Linked DNA regions of Homo sapiens: regions 1 and 2 are each linked to region 3. The links are contacts of gene promoters, found by promoter capture Hi-C in blood cells and fetal thymus (Javierre and others, 2016). All regions are on one chromosome and are shown on one strand. Each heading gives the region's core, a stretch centred on a gene start or on the middle of the fragment in contact. The rest is flanking DNA. Distances are from core to core; before and after follow the strand shown.

Region 1 (2,500 bases), core at 1-2,500, 1.1 Mb after region 3:
ATCAGTTCTGGACCTCTGAGGAGAATGGTAACTGTGTTTTATTTTCAGAGAGCCTTCTTTCTGCCTTAGCATAGTGTCCGGGACAAAGCAATGATGATAAATGGACAACCATTATTGAACATTGACCCCGTAGCTGGCATTGCACTAAGTACTACATTATTTTAACTCCTCCATTCTACTCCTCTATGCCCATTTTACAGGCAAAATGATACTCACTCGAACGTTTTTGTCCTCTGTTTCCATTCTTGAAACATGCCAAACCTCCAGTTTTAGGGCCTTTTCCTAAAACTGGACATAGGAAGGGCCCATGTCTCTCTCTTCCATATTCTAATTAAGCACTCAGCACACATGCCATCTCTTCAAAGCTTTTCCGACCGCCTATCTACAACAGCCTGCCTCCACAGTTTCACACACTCTTTTACGTTATTTATAAAAGAGTCTCACTCAATGGAAGCTGGATTTCCTCTCCTGTAAAATGAGGTAGGCCCTCTCGGCTCAAGGTCACTCCCTGTGATTCTACACAGAGAGGGAGTGGGAAGAGAGGGCGCTCGGCAGCAGAGGAGGAGGAGGAAGGAGGGAAGGGCGAAGGCGGGAGTGGGTGCAGAAGCGGGGGGTCTGGCGGTCCAGGGGGGTAGAAGGGAGGGGCGGATTCGAGTGGGCGCCAGGTGGAGGTGGGGCCAGGGTTGTCAAGGGAGCACGAAAGGGGTCGCGGTGTGTCCGGCAAGGACTGGGTAGGGCAGCGCCTGCTATGGACTAGGGGCGAGGGCTACGAAAGGGTTGTTGGAGGGGTGGATGCGGGTGGATCCCGAAACCAAGCGGCTCCGAGGGGCGACTAGAGGTGGGGAGGGGGCGCGCAGGAGTTGCCAAGGTCGGACAGAGGGGAGCGCGGTCTATCCGGCTGGGAATGGGCCGGACAGGGCGCGGGGTTCCGGGGTCGCGGAGAGGCGCGGAGGTAGATCTGAGCCGAGTGGAGGGCGCGTGGGGGTGGGTGCAGAGGGGCGCCGAAGGGATCCGGGCCCAGCGGCCGGTGGAGAGGGGCCGCGGAGAGGCGCAGGTGGGAGCTGGGCGGCCGAGCGAGCGCAGAGGGGGCGCGGCTTGCGCGGCTTGCGCGGCTGGGCGGGAACAGGCGCTCGGTCGGGGGCGGGGGGTGCGCCGGGGTAGCCGAGAGGCGGACGCAACAGCGGGGTCCCGCGCTGTCTGGGCGGCCCCAGGGGCTGTCGGCTCACTTCCGGGAACGCCGGGGAACCGCAGTAGCCGCCTGCTAGTGGCGCTGCTAGCCGGCCGGCGCAGGCTGCCGAGCGGGTGAGCGCGCAGGCCAGGCCAAAGCCCTGGTACCCGCGCGGTGCGGGCCTCAGTCTGCGGCCATGGGGGCGTCCGCGCGGCTGCTGCGAGCGGTGATCATGGGGGCCCCGGGCTCGGGCAAGGGCACCGTGTCGTCGCGCATCACTACACACTTCGAGCTGAAGCACCTCTCCAGCGGGGACCTGCTCCGGGACAACATGCTGCGGGGCACAGGTGGGAGCTCTGGGCCCAGGGCCGGCCGTGCGCTGTCACCCGGGTCGGACTTCGCGGGCGAGGGGCCGAAGCTGGGCACGCGGGTCCCTGGCTGCGGGCGCGGCATTTCCCTCCCGCCGCCCGGGACAGAGACCTCGGGCTGCTGAGCGACTGCGCCCCAAAACCTCCGGCCTCCGTGGGCCGCTTCGGGCGGGTTATGGGGTGGCGGTGGGGGAAGGGACTGGAAAGTTAGGTCGAGCTCGAAGTTCAGAGATGAAAGGAAACCACCGGGCTTTGTTTCAGAGGCCCAAGTCCTCCCAGTGGCAGCCACTCTTGGGGGTCCATCGAGCTGAGCCGCAGCTTGTTCAACGTGCTGGTGCCTTTGGAAGACTGTCATTAGCCCTGCTAGAGTCTGCTCGTTCTGTTTTGTTTTCTTTGTTTCTTTCTTTTCTCTTTCTTTTTTGGTGTGGTTAAGCTCTATGAGATCTTGTAGTTCTGACCTTTCCCCCATATTCCCAAGGCCAAGTATTATTTACCCTTGTTGCAGTCATAAAATTATCTCATTTTGATATCCTTAGATTTCGTAGACACGAAGGCTATTCTTGTGCATGGTTCTATAAAATATTTTGTTTCTCATGCCAAATAAATTCTTACAGCTCGGCACGAAAGGCAGTTAACAATCTACACTATACAATGGGTGAATTTGTGGTATGTAAATTCTCTCTTAAGAGGGTTGTTTTTGAAAAGCCAATCGCAGGAGTTTTTTTCTCAAAAAATGTTGACCTTACTTTTCAAAATAGAACCCGTTTTGAAACTCATTTTGAAACCCATTTACATAGAAATAATGCTTCCACAAGGCCTTTTTCTTTTGTTTTCCTTCTTTTTTTTTTTTTTTTTGTAAGGATAGCAAACAGGATAGACGTGCATAGCATAAAAAACAACGCCCTCTTTCGTTCCCTACCTCAGTCCCATTCTTCGGAGGGGAACAGAGTTTTCCTTCTAGAAA
Region 2 (4,359 bases), core at 1,388-3,887, 1.0 Mb after region 3:
TCCGGCTACATCTTCAATCAAGCTACCAAGGACTCCCTTGATTATGACCAGAAATCATGTGTCAGGGACTACATCTATTTATGCGTGCACGTATATGTATATACACTTACATGTATGTGTATACATATACACATATACATGTATATCTGCAAATGCATATCTATCTCTCTGTTCCCTCTGTAAGAAATTAAGCAGACAGGCTGGGCGCAGCGGCTCACACCTGTAATCCCAGCACTCTGGGAGGCCAAGGCAGGCGGATCACCTGAGGTCAGCAGTTTCATACAGCCTGGCCAACATGGTGAAACCCCATCTCTACTAAAAATACTCTACTAAAAATTAGCTGGGCATGGTGGCAGGCACCTGTAATCCCAGCTACGAGGGAGGCTGAGGCAGGAGAATTGCAGGAACCCAGGAGGCGGAGGTTGCAGTGAGCCGAGATCGCACCACGGCACTCCAGCCTGGGAGACAGAGTAAGACTCTGTCTCAAAAAAAAAGAAAGAAATTAAGCAGACAAACATCTACAAGGTTTCTGAGGCCCTGAAGCCAGCGCAAGGATGTACAAATAACTAGGAGTCTCTTTCTTCCCCTGGTATATGAACGGGGTAAGGCAAATAATGCTCTACAGTAATGTTCCCCATAAAATACCAGCACACCTGCCAAGCAGTTCTACCTCCCTCAGGTATCAGCGTCTGACACCCTTTCAAGAAAGTGCCAAGTGGCCAAGCCCTGTTCTTGGAAGAAACGGGAGCTCATATGTGTGAGATGCTTTGAAGAGATGCTCACATACAGTGGAGGGGGAGAAGGAGAAGCATACTTTGGAACATTAAATATTAAATTGGAGGCCACCTGTCAATAGAAAAACTCTAAATAGAACTAGATTCATTTTAGAGAACCCAGGTTTCCAGGCTATACTTCCATTTCTCTGGAAAAAAAAAAAAAAGTTATGCCTACTTTTATACAAAGTAGAAGTCCATCTTCTTACCATATCCAGCTAGTGGCAAGTTCTCTGAGCTAACCTGAGGGTAAAGTGGATGGAGAGCTGGCTGAGAATGCCACACAGCAATCAAGCAAACACTTTGCCCAAGGGTCAAACTAAGTGGAACACTTGTTGACGGAAAAGTCGTGGCATAAACCATTTGTGGTCTCTCCCTAACTTTCTCAGTGTTTTTGAGCAGTAGAGAGAGGACAGGAACCACCAACACAAGTTTTTCCTACCATCACTAGGTTTCTCACCACTGTACCTGGGATATTCTGCTTCTTTCCTTCCTAACCTATCTCCGTCAATAGCATGGCATCTTCTGCCCTTTATGTGCAGCCAATCACCACCCAAGAGAGGCAGAGATCTAACTATCCAAAAAATGCATTCAGACAGATAAAACAAGAGCCAGTGCAAAATGAAACACATCAGCGCCGCTCAGGAAGCTTCCAGGACCAACCACAAACACTCTTTTTCAATTTACAGACAGGTTTTTTCCTTTTTCACCTGACTACTGACTCGCCCAACTTGGGATAACCACCAGTCAGAAGCTTTTAAATGCATGTATCTCATGCCAGGGGGCCAGGTGTAAACCAAGGCCAGTTGAAAACCGGCGCCATTTAATGAGATGTGGGTTTAAATGGGCCTATTTCTTTTTAACCTACCATTGCAGAGCAAGAAGTGAGCTTGGAAGCCTGCAGTTTAGCGATTGTCACCGACCCCTTTTCTAAAGTCAAGGCAATTAGGCCCATGACTGTTAAAAGTCTATCTCAAAGCTCCTGTCCTGCGCACATCAATCACAGTCACGGCTGAAAACAAACACAGAATTTTAAAAATTTCTTTATCCACACCCAAGGACAAGTGTGAGGGCAGCCGAGAAATCATGGCGACAGGAACAGCCGGTGTCCAAGGGGGCAGCTGCTTCTGAGAACTGCTTTGAGACAGGGCAGAGAACCAACCCAAGGTACTTTTCTCTCCCAATGTCTCTCCCCCGGCTCATTCACCATATTTCGGTCCAACAAACTGTTTTTCTCCTTTGAGAGGTTTATGGCGAGGGCAAGAGGGGCCGAAGGGACGCGAAGGGGCGACGCCAGGGATTTGTTGCTACACGTAAAGCTGGAAAACGTGCAGCTGTTTACTACCAGCGCCCCGGAGACGCCGAGCGCAGCTTGCAGCTGAGCGCTCCCCTCGGGCCCCGACCCCGCCTCCCCCACTGTGCCTGCCCCTCCGGCTTTGGAGGCGACGCGCCACCTGCCCTCCCCGACGCGCTCGCCGGACGCCGAGCCGCCCAACCAACACCGCGCGGGCCCCCACGGCATCAGCTCGGTCTCCCCTCAGCCCCCGCGCCCACGCCGCGCGCCGCCCACACCAAGTTACCTCGGAGGCCCGGGTTGTCGTCTCTGGCCCGAATCTTTCGGATTTTGACGGGGCGCCCGCTCAGGGTAGACAGGACCAGACGTTGGCGCAAGAAGTTGCACCCTGCGTAGCTGAGGGAGTGCGCCTGAGTCGCCATGTGCGCGCTCTCCGAAGAGACGTGAGCAGCCCGAGAGCGGCGACTTCGGACAGACGCGGGACTCGTGACTCCGATGGTGGTGGTGGCGGCGACACCGACGGCGGCGGCTCGGGCTGCCTCCAGCAGCCCAGACGCGTCCACGTGGTTTGGAACAGGAAGACGGAGAGACTAGACACCGGGTCAGAGGGGAGCGGGGCGGAGCCAGTGGCCACCTCCCCGCCTCCCCGCCCGACCGGGGCGGCCCCCGCTTCGGGCCACGCCGCTATTGGCCCGCGCCGGATCAGGGCGGTGCCCGCGCCGCGCCTCCATTGGCTTCCGCTGAAGCTGGGCGGTGCCCAAGCCGCGCTGCCATTGGTCCGTAGTGGAGCTGGGCGGTGCCCGGGCCCTGGCAACAGCGCGCGGCTGGAGGGAACGCGGGAGGATGGCCAGGGAACCCCGGCGCGGGAGTTGCCAGTCGGGGCAGTCTCCTCTGTGTACCTCCTGGCGTGGTAGCAAGGGGAGATGGCGGACTGAGATTGATGCCTACGACGTGCCGGATTCTTAGCATTACTACTTACGGCAACTACTGGGGTGAAGATGCTATTATCTACCCCTCCTCTTTCTTACTAAGAGAGACAACAAGGGTTGGTGCACTCACCCTATCGCAGGGATGCCGCTCAGCGCACTGCCGGCGCAGTCCCGCAGCTCCATGCTGTAACCCTGCAAGGTAGAGCCATCCTGTCCTACTCATGGATAAAGGCTCGAGGAATATTGCAAAGCTGACAGTGGCAGCCTATACTGAGACCCGAATCCTCCCACAGCAGGCCGTTGCTTATTTTATTGAGACACCTCTTTGCCCCTTTCTCACGGGTCCCTTCGTTTATCGTCATTGCGTTTCATGGCAATTCAGGCCCTCCTACCTCGCATGCTTCAAGATAGATAGTTGTAATAACTTCACACACACACACGCGCGCAATGCTTTTTCCCTCTTTCCCGTCCTCCTCCAATCCTGCACAAGAAAATCTTCCCAAACGTTGGATTATTTCACTTCTCTACTCAAAAACCTTCCAAAATGTACAGTTAACTAACAAATGACTACACAAGTAGAAGTCCGATATCATAGTAATGTGGGTTTGTAGCCATTCCTGGACAACACTCACCAAACCATGAGTCCCAGAATGCACGGGGGTTCGCGGGGGGAAGGGGGGCGGGGTATGATAGTGTCTGAAAGCGGTGGGAGTTTAAGATTAAGGGATGTAGCTAGCCTTATGTAGACAACAGTGTGTTATAAAGTGGAGTGGAGTGGCATGCTCATGACTCACTGCAGCCTCAACTTCCCGAGTTCTAGTAATCCTCCAACCTCAGCCTCCCCATTAGCTGGAACTACAGGTGTGCACCACCATGCTCAGCTAATTTTTGTATTTTGTATAGACATGGGTTTTTGCCATGTTACCCAGGCTGGTCTCAAACTTCTAACCTCAAGCGATTGGCCCACCTTGGCCTCACAAGTGTGAGCCACCACTCCCAGCCTTTAATCCATTTTTCTTTGATTTTTGTAAATGGCAAGAGATAGAGATCTAGTTTCACTCTTTTGCATATGGATATCCAATTTTCTCAGCATCATTTATTGAAGAGACTGTCCTTTCCCCAGAGTATGTTCTTGGCAACTTTGTCGAAAATGAGTTTACCGTAGCTGTGTGGATTTATCTCTGCGTTCTCCGCTCTGTTCTACTGATCTATGTGTCTGTTTTTATGCCAGTACCATGCCATTTTGTTTACTCTAGCTCTGTAGTATAATTTGAAGTCAGGTAATGTGATTCCTCCAGTTTTGTTCTTTTTGCTTAGGACAGGTTTGGCTATTCTGGGTCTTTTGTGGTTCCATATAATTTTT
Region 3 (4,398 bases), core at 1,043-3,542:
TTCTTTATGGCACTTAACTCTCTGACATTTTATACACACACACACATGCGCGCGCGCGTTCATTGTCTCTTTGTTAGAATGTAAGCTCTCTGAAGGTAGAAACATTGATTTGTTCTTCTCTGTTTCTCCACCTTAATCAGTATCTGACACAAGTAGATATCCAACAACTAGTAGCTAAAAATATTCAAACGTGAATACCGTAGACTATACAAGTATAGAGAAAAACTGCCTTTCAGGAACTCAGCTGTAACTTAACTCCTACCACCTAGAGTTCTATGATTATCATGATAGGAAAGTAGCTTTTAATCTAATCTACAAAGGATTTCATGAGAAGGAAAATTCTGAAAAATAGTTTTTAATGAGAATCTTATGTGAGGATCTTTCACACACACACACACACACACACACACACACACACACACACACACACATCTATCTATCCATCTATCATCTGTCTATCTATCTAATCCTCACTGAAGCCCCTTAAGGCAGGTATCATCTGCATTACCACAGATAAATACACGTGGACTCTGTGAGATTGTAACTTGAATAATGCCATGTGTACTAAAGGTACCAGATCCAGGAACTCAGATCTACCCGTCCCCAACAGCCAGGCAGCCAGGCATTTCCCTATTATGGTACCATGGGATATTGTCAGACATACACACACACACACACACACACACACACACACACACACACACATATATACATACATATAGTTATGACCATGGGCTAGGCTCTTATCCAGAGCTAAGCACTATGGATACAGTGATGATTAAATAAGATAGACACTGTCTTTAGTCTCATAGTGCTTACAGACTGAAAGGGATCTTGTAGAGCTAAAATTATGCTTGCTGCCACAAAAGTGGTATGTTTTCATTTTTTCATTCACTCAAGAAATATCTATTGACTACATACTATGTGTCATGCTTTGTGTTAAGAGCAAGGAATAAAATGGTGAGTAAAACCAGACCTGATTCCTGCCTTCGTGGGGCTTACAGTCTAATGAGGAAGTTATGAAATAGTCACATGCAAACATGGTGCTGTGAGATCCTACAAATAGGGGAAGCAAGCTTAATTAAATTAGGAGATTCTTGCTTGAGGAAGTACCACTTAATCTGAGATTTAAAGGATAACTAGGAGTTAAAAAGACAATGAGGAGAGAGAAGAACACTCCAGGTAATTCAAACAGCATGTGAGAAGATCCTATTGTAGAAGGAAAGATGCGTGCAGGAAGTCTTTGAAAGAGGCCAGTGTGGCTGGAGAGCTGGAAATAAGAAGCATCCTGGTGTCAGAGGAGCCTGAGAGGTGGGCAAGAGCAGGACTATAGGGCATTGTATGAAATCTGACATATGTGCTAAGTCAAAATCCGGCAGTGTGCTCTCCCAGTTGGTCTCTAGGTTAATGCTCATGCTAATGTAGCAACTCCAAGCTAGGGACAAAAAACCTTGGAGCAGAGAGGCTCATGGGTACCGGCAAGCTGGAAGAAGACTAGATAATCACTAGGATCTGCACTGAAACCAAGGCTCTGCTGCTTAACCGCCCCAGAGAGTCGTCAAGTGAAGAATGGCCTTTCTGAACCTTCACTTGCAGAGTGCTAATGTAGTAGTGGAACAGAATGCTGTTTTGGGAGCCCATGAAATTAGATTTACATTCTTCATCTGTTATCTCTACGTTTCTCAGGTTATAAAATGGGAACAAAGATATTTCCTTTTAAGTATTGTTAAAGATAATTAAATAAGATGATGTATTAAAGGACTTGACCTAGCGCTTAGCTCATAGCAGGTATTCAATAAATAATAGCCATTATTTTTCTTTATCTGTTAAATGGAGACAGTAATAGCACAGATTAAGTTGCTGAGTTATGAAGATCTGATTAGATTATGCATGTGAAAGCAATAGGCCGGGCCTCCTCTGCGTAATCTTATTTCTAATTTTAAGAGCCAGGAACCCACTTTTTTGGAGCCTGATGTTCTAATATTCCTTCCTTACGAAAGCCAGGTCATTGCTTTTTTCATCTGCCTGATGCACTGTAAGAGCCTTGTGTGTTCTTTCAAAAGCGATCTCTCATTTTTCTCGTTTTGGGTTTTTAGGTGTCTTTACATTTGGCAATCTCCGTCCTACAGAGGGCTGGAAAAGCCCTGCGGGAGACGGCATATCCACCACCCGCTGCTGGGTCGGCCCTGCAGCTGTGTGCACCCGAGAACTGCCAAAGAAGCTGGGTCTTGGCGCGGCGGGACGGGCCAATCAGAAGAAGTTTGGCCCTCTGCAGTTTCCGTCCGCTCACTAGGAGGCGCTGCGGCAGCGACGGCGGCGTCGGCGGCGGCCGGGGCTGTCGCGGGTTGGGGCGGTTGGGCTGGCAGCTGAGGCTCGTGGCCATGGAGTGGGGTTCTGAGTCGGCTGCTGTGAGGCGGCACCGCGTCGGAGTAGAGCGTCGAGAGGGAGCGGCGGCCGCGCCACCGCCGGAGAGGGAGGCCCGAGCGCAGGAGCCTCTGGTGGATGGGTGCAGCGGCGGCGGGAGGACGCGGAAGAGGAGCCCCGGGGGTAGCGGCGGCGCGAGCAGGGGCGCGGGGACCGGGCTGTCTGAGGTGCGCGCCGCGCTGGGGCTCGCGCTCTACCTGATCGCGCTGCGGACGCTGGTGCAGCTCTCGCTGCAGCAGCTCGTGCTACGCGGGGCCGCTGGACACCGCGGGGAGTTCGACGCGCTCCAAGCCAGGTACCGGCCGCTCCCTCCTGGCACGGCCCGCGCGTCCGTTTGCGGCTCCTGCGCAGGCTCCGGGGCACCGCACCTGTGTGCACCCGCCCCTGCCGGACCGCTGGGACTCGCTGACCCCTCCCAGGCTGCACGTGGGGTGGGGTGACCTTGCTTGTCCTTCTTCTGGGGTCTGAATTGCCGGGACTTGGGGCTTGCCTGTCCCCGGTTAAGCTCGTGGTGCAGATTGGGGTTGCCAGGTAGATTGAACCTGCTTTCCACTGTCTGCCCTTCGTGCAGATGGTTGGTTGTGAGTCGTCTCCCCATATTCTGGAACAGCTTCCCCTTTTTACCTTGCTTAGCCCTTCTGCTTTCCAGATGGAAATTTGTGTACCTAGACTGTTGTATAAATTCGCTTTGGGGGCGGGGAGTTTTGGAAGGCGCTAGTGCACTGTTCTAACTTTCTGAGGGTTACAGCCCCCACATCTGAAGGCTATAGAAACTCTTTCTGGAACACCGCCCAGTCAAAATTTGGTATGCAGTCTGATAAATTCTCAGATCCCTGCAGTTTATCTTTAGGCCCCTTGGATTAGTGACTGTGTAAGGTTTGACTTTTTTTTTTTTTTTTAAGACCTTTAAGAATGCTAGGAAAGGTGATTAAGTCAAAGATATTGTAACCCAGGTGTGTCAAAGCTCATGAAGTGTTAAGCTGGCGTCAAGTTTTCAACAGCTACTGTGTTCTAAAAAGTTTTTGCTAGAATGCAAAGTGTTGCAAGCTTATTAAGGACTTTCTGAAACGTCTCCCACCCCCACTTCCAGCTTTCCCCACTTGGAATGCAGTGAAAAGACAAAAACAGTTTTGTTTTCATTAGGGGTACAGTTGGTTTTGGCCTGAATTGAAGTTATTAGACCTTGGGTGTATGCTAGGAGGGCTAGGTCCATCAAAAGTTTCCCCCGCCCGCCTTATTTAACCTCTTGACTTGATTATTTTTGCTCATTGGTTTCTGCTACTTAAAGTCATTAACCCAGAATCTGTAACGTTCAGGAGTATGCACAGTGAAGTTATATTCTATCCTGCTTAGTCTTTAGCTTTTTTTGTTTGTTTTCTGAGACAGGGCCTGGCTCTGTCGCCCAGGCTGGAGTGCAGTGGCTCCATCTCGGGTCTGTAGCCTCCACCTCCCAGGTTCAAGCAGTCCTCCCACCTCAGCCTCTTGAGTAGCTGGGACTACAGGCGGATAGTAGTCTACATCTGGCTAGTTTTTGTAGTTTTAGAAGAGATGGGGTTTCACCATGTTGCCCAGGCTGGTCTCAAACTCCTGAGCTCAAGCAATCCACCCACCTCAGCCTCCGAAAGTCCTGGGATTACAGGCGTGAGCCACCGTGCCTGGCCAGTGGTCACACGTTTTGAATACATCCCTAGTCCTTGTATTGGTTTGATATGGGGAGAAGTTGGGAGTGGGATGGTGGAGAAAACTGAAGGGGTCAACTCGTGGGAGGCAACAATAAAAATATGGAACTTTATAAGTGATGTTCACTTGGTGTCTGAAATAATGAAAGGCGGTCCCTTTTATATAAGGCAAAGAACTAAGCTTTTTTGGGGAGGAAGGGGTGTGTAGTGGAAAAGTTACCCACGCTAAGTGTCAATTTTAACTACAAACCTTTGTTATTCTTTTGGTTACTTCCAGGGATTATCTTGAACACAT

What was found. Contacts are between HindIII fragments. The CHiCAGO score rates a contact against its expected background, and 5 or more counts as called.
Region 1: the fragment with the promoter of AK3 here is called in contact with the fragment with the promoter of ERMP1 in region 3 in 1 of 17 cell types (monocytes); the score reaches 5.6 in monocytes.
Region 2: a contact is called between the fragment with the promoter of RCL1 here and the fragment with the promoter of ERMP1 in region 3, in 4 of 17 cell types (naive B cells, total B cells, monocytes and 1 more). The highest score is 8.3, in naive B cells.

The regions. Positions count from the first base shown.
Region 1 is chr9:4,739,952-4,742,451 of GRCh38, reverse strand. AK3 (adenylate kinase 3) reads left to right here and starts at 1,250. Exons shown (of 5, transcript NM_016282.4): 1 at 1,250-1,515. The coding sequence starts at 1,365. RefSeq lists silencers at 861-1,350, 1,581-1,720. The HindIII fragment of the contact is 10,519 bases long and covers 368-2,500 here.
Region 2 is chr9:4,791,222-4,795,580 of GRCh38, reverse strand. RCL1 (RNA terminal phosphate cyclase like 1) reads right to left here and starts at 2,637. Exons shown (of 9, transcript NM_005772.5): 1 at 2,354-2,637. The coding sequence starts at 2,489. RefSeq lists enhancers at 1,887-2,386, 2,461-2,510, 3,331-3,380 and a silencer at 2,591-2,950. The HindIII fragment of the contact is 3,785 bases long and covers 1,530-4,359 here.
Region 3 is chr9:5,831,011-5,835,408 of GRCh38, reverse strand. ERMP1 (endoplasmic reticulum metallopeptidase 1) reads left to right here and starts at 2,292. Exons shown (of 15, transcript NM_024896.3): 1 at 2,292-2,719; 2 at 4,381-4,398. The coding sequence starts at 2,382. RefSeq lists silencers at 2,206-2,425, 2,506-2,725. The HindIII fragment of the contact is 2,395 bases long and covers 1,079-3,473 here.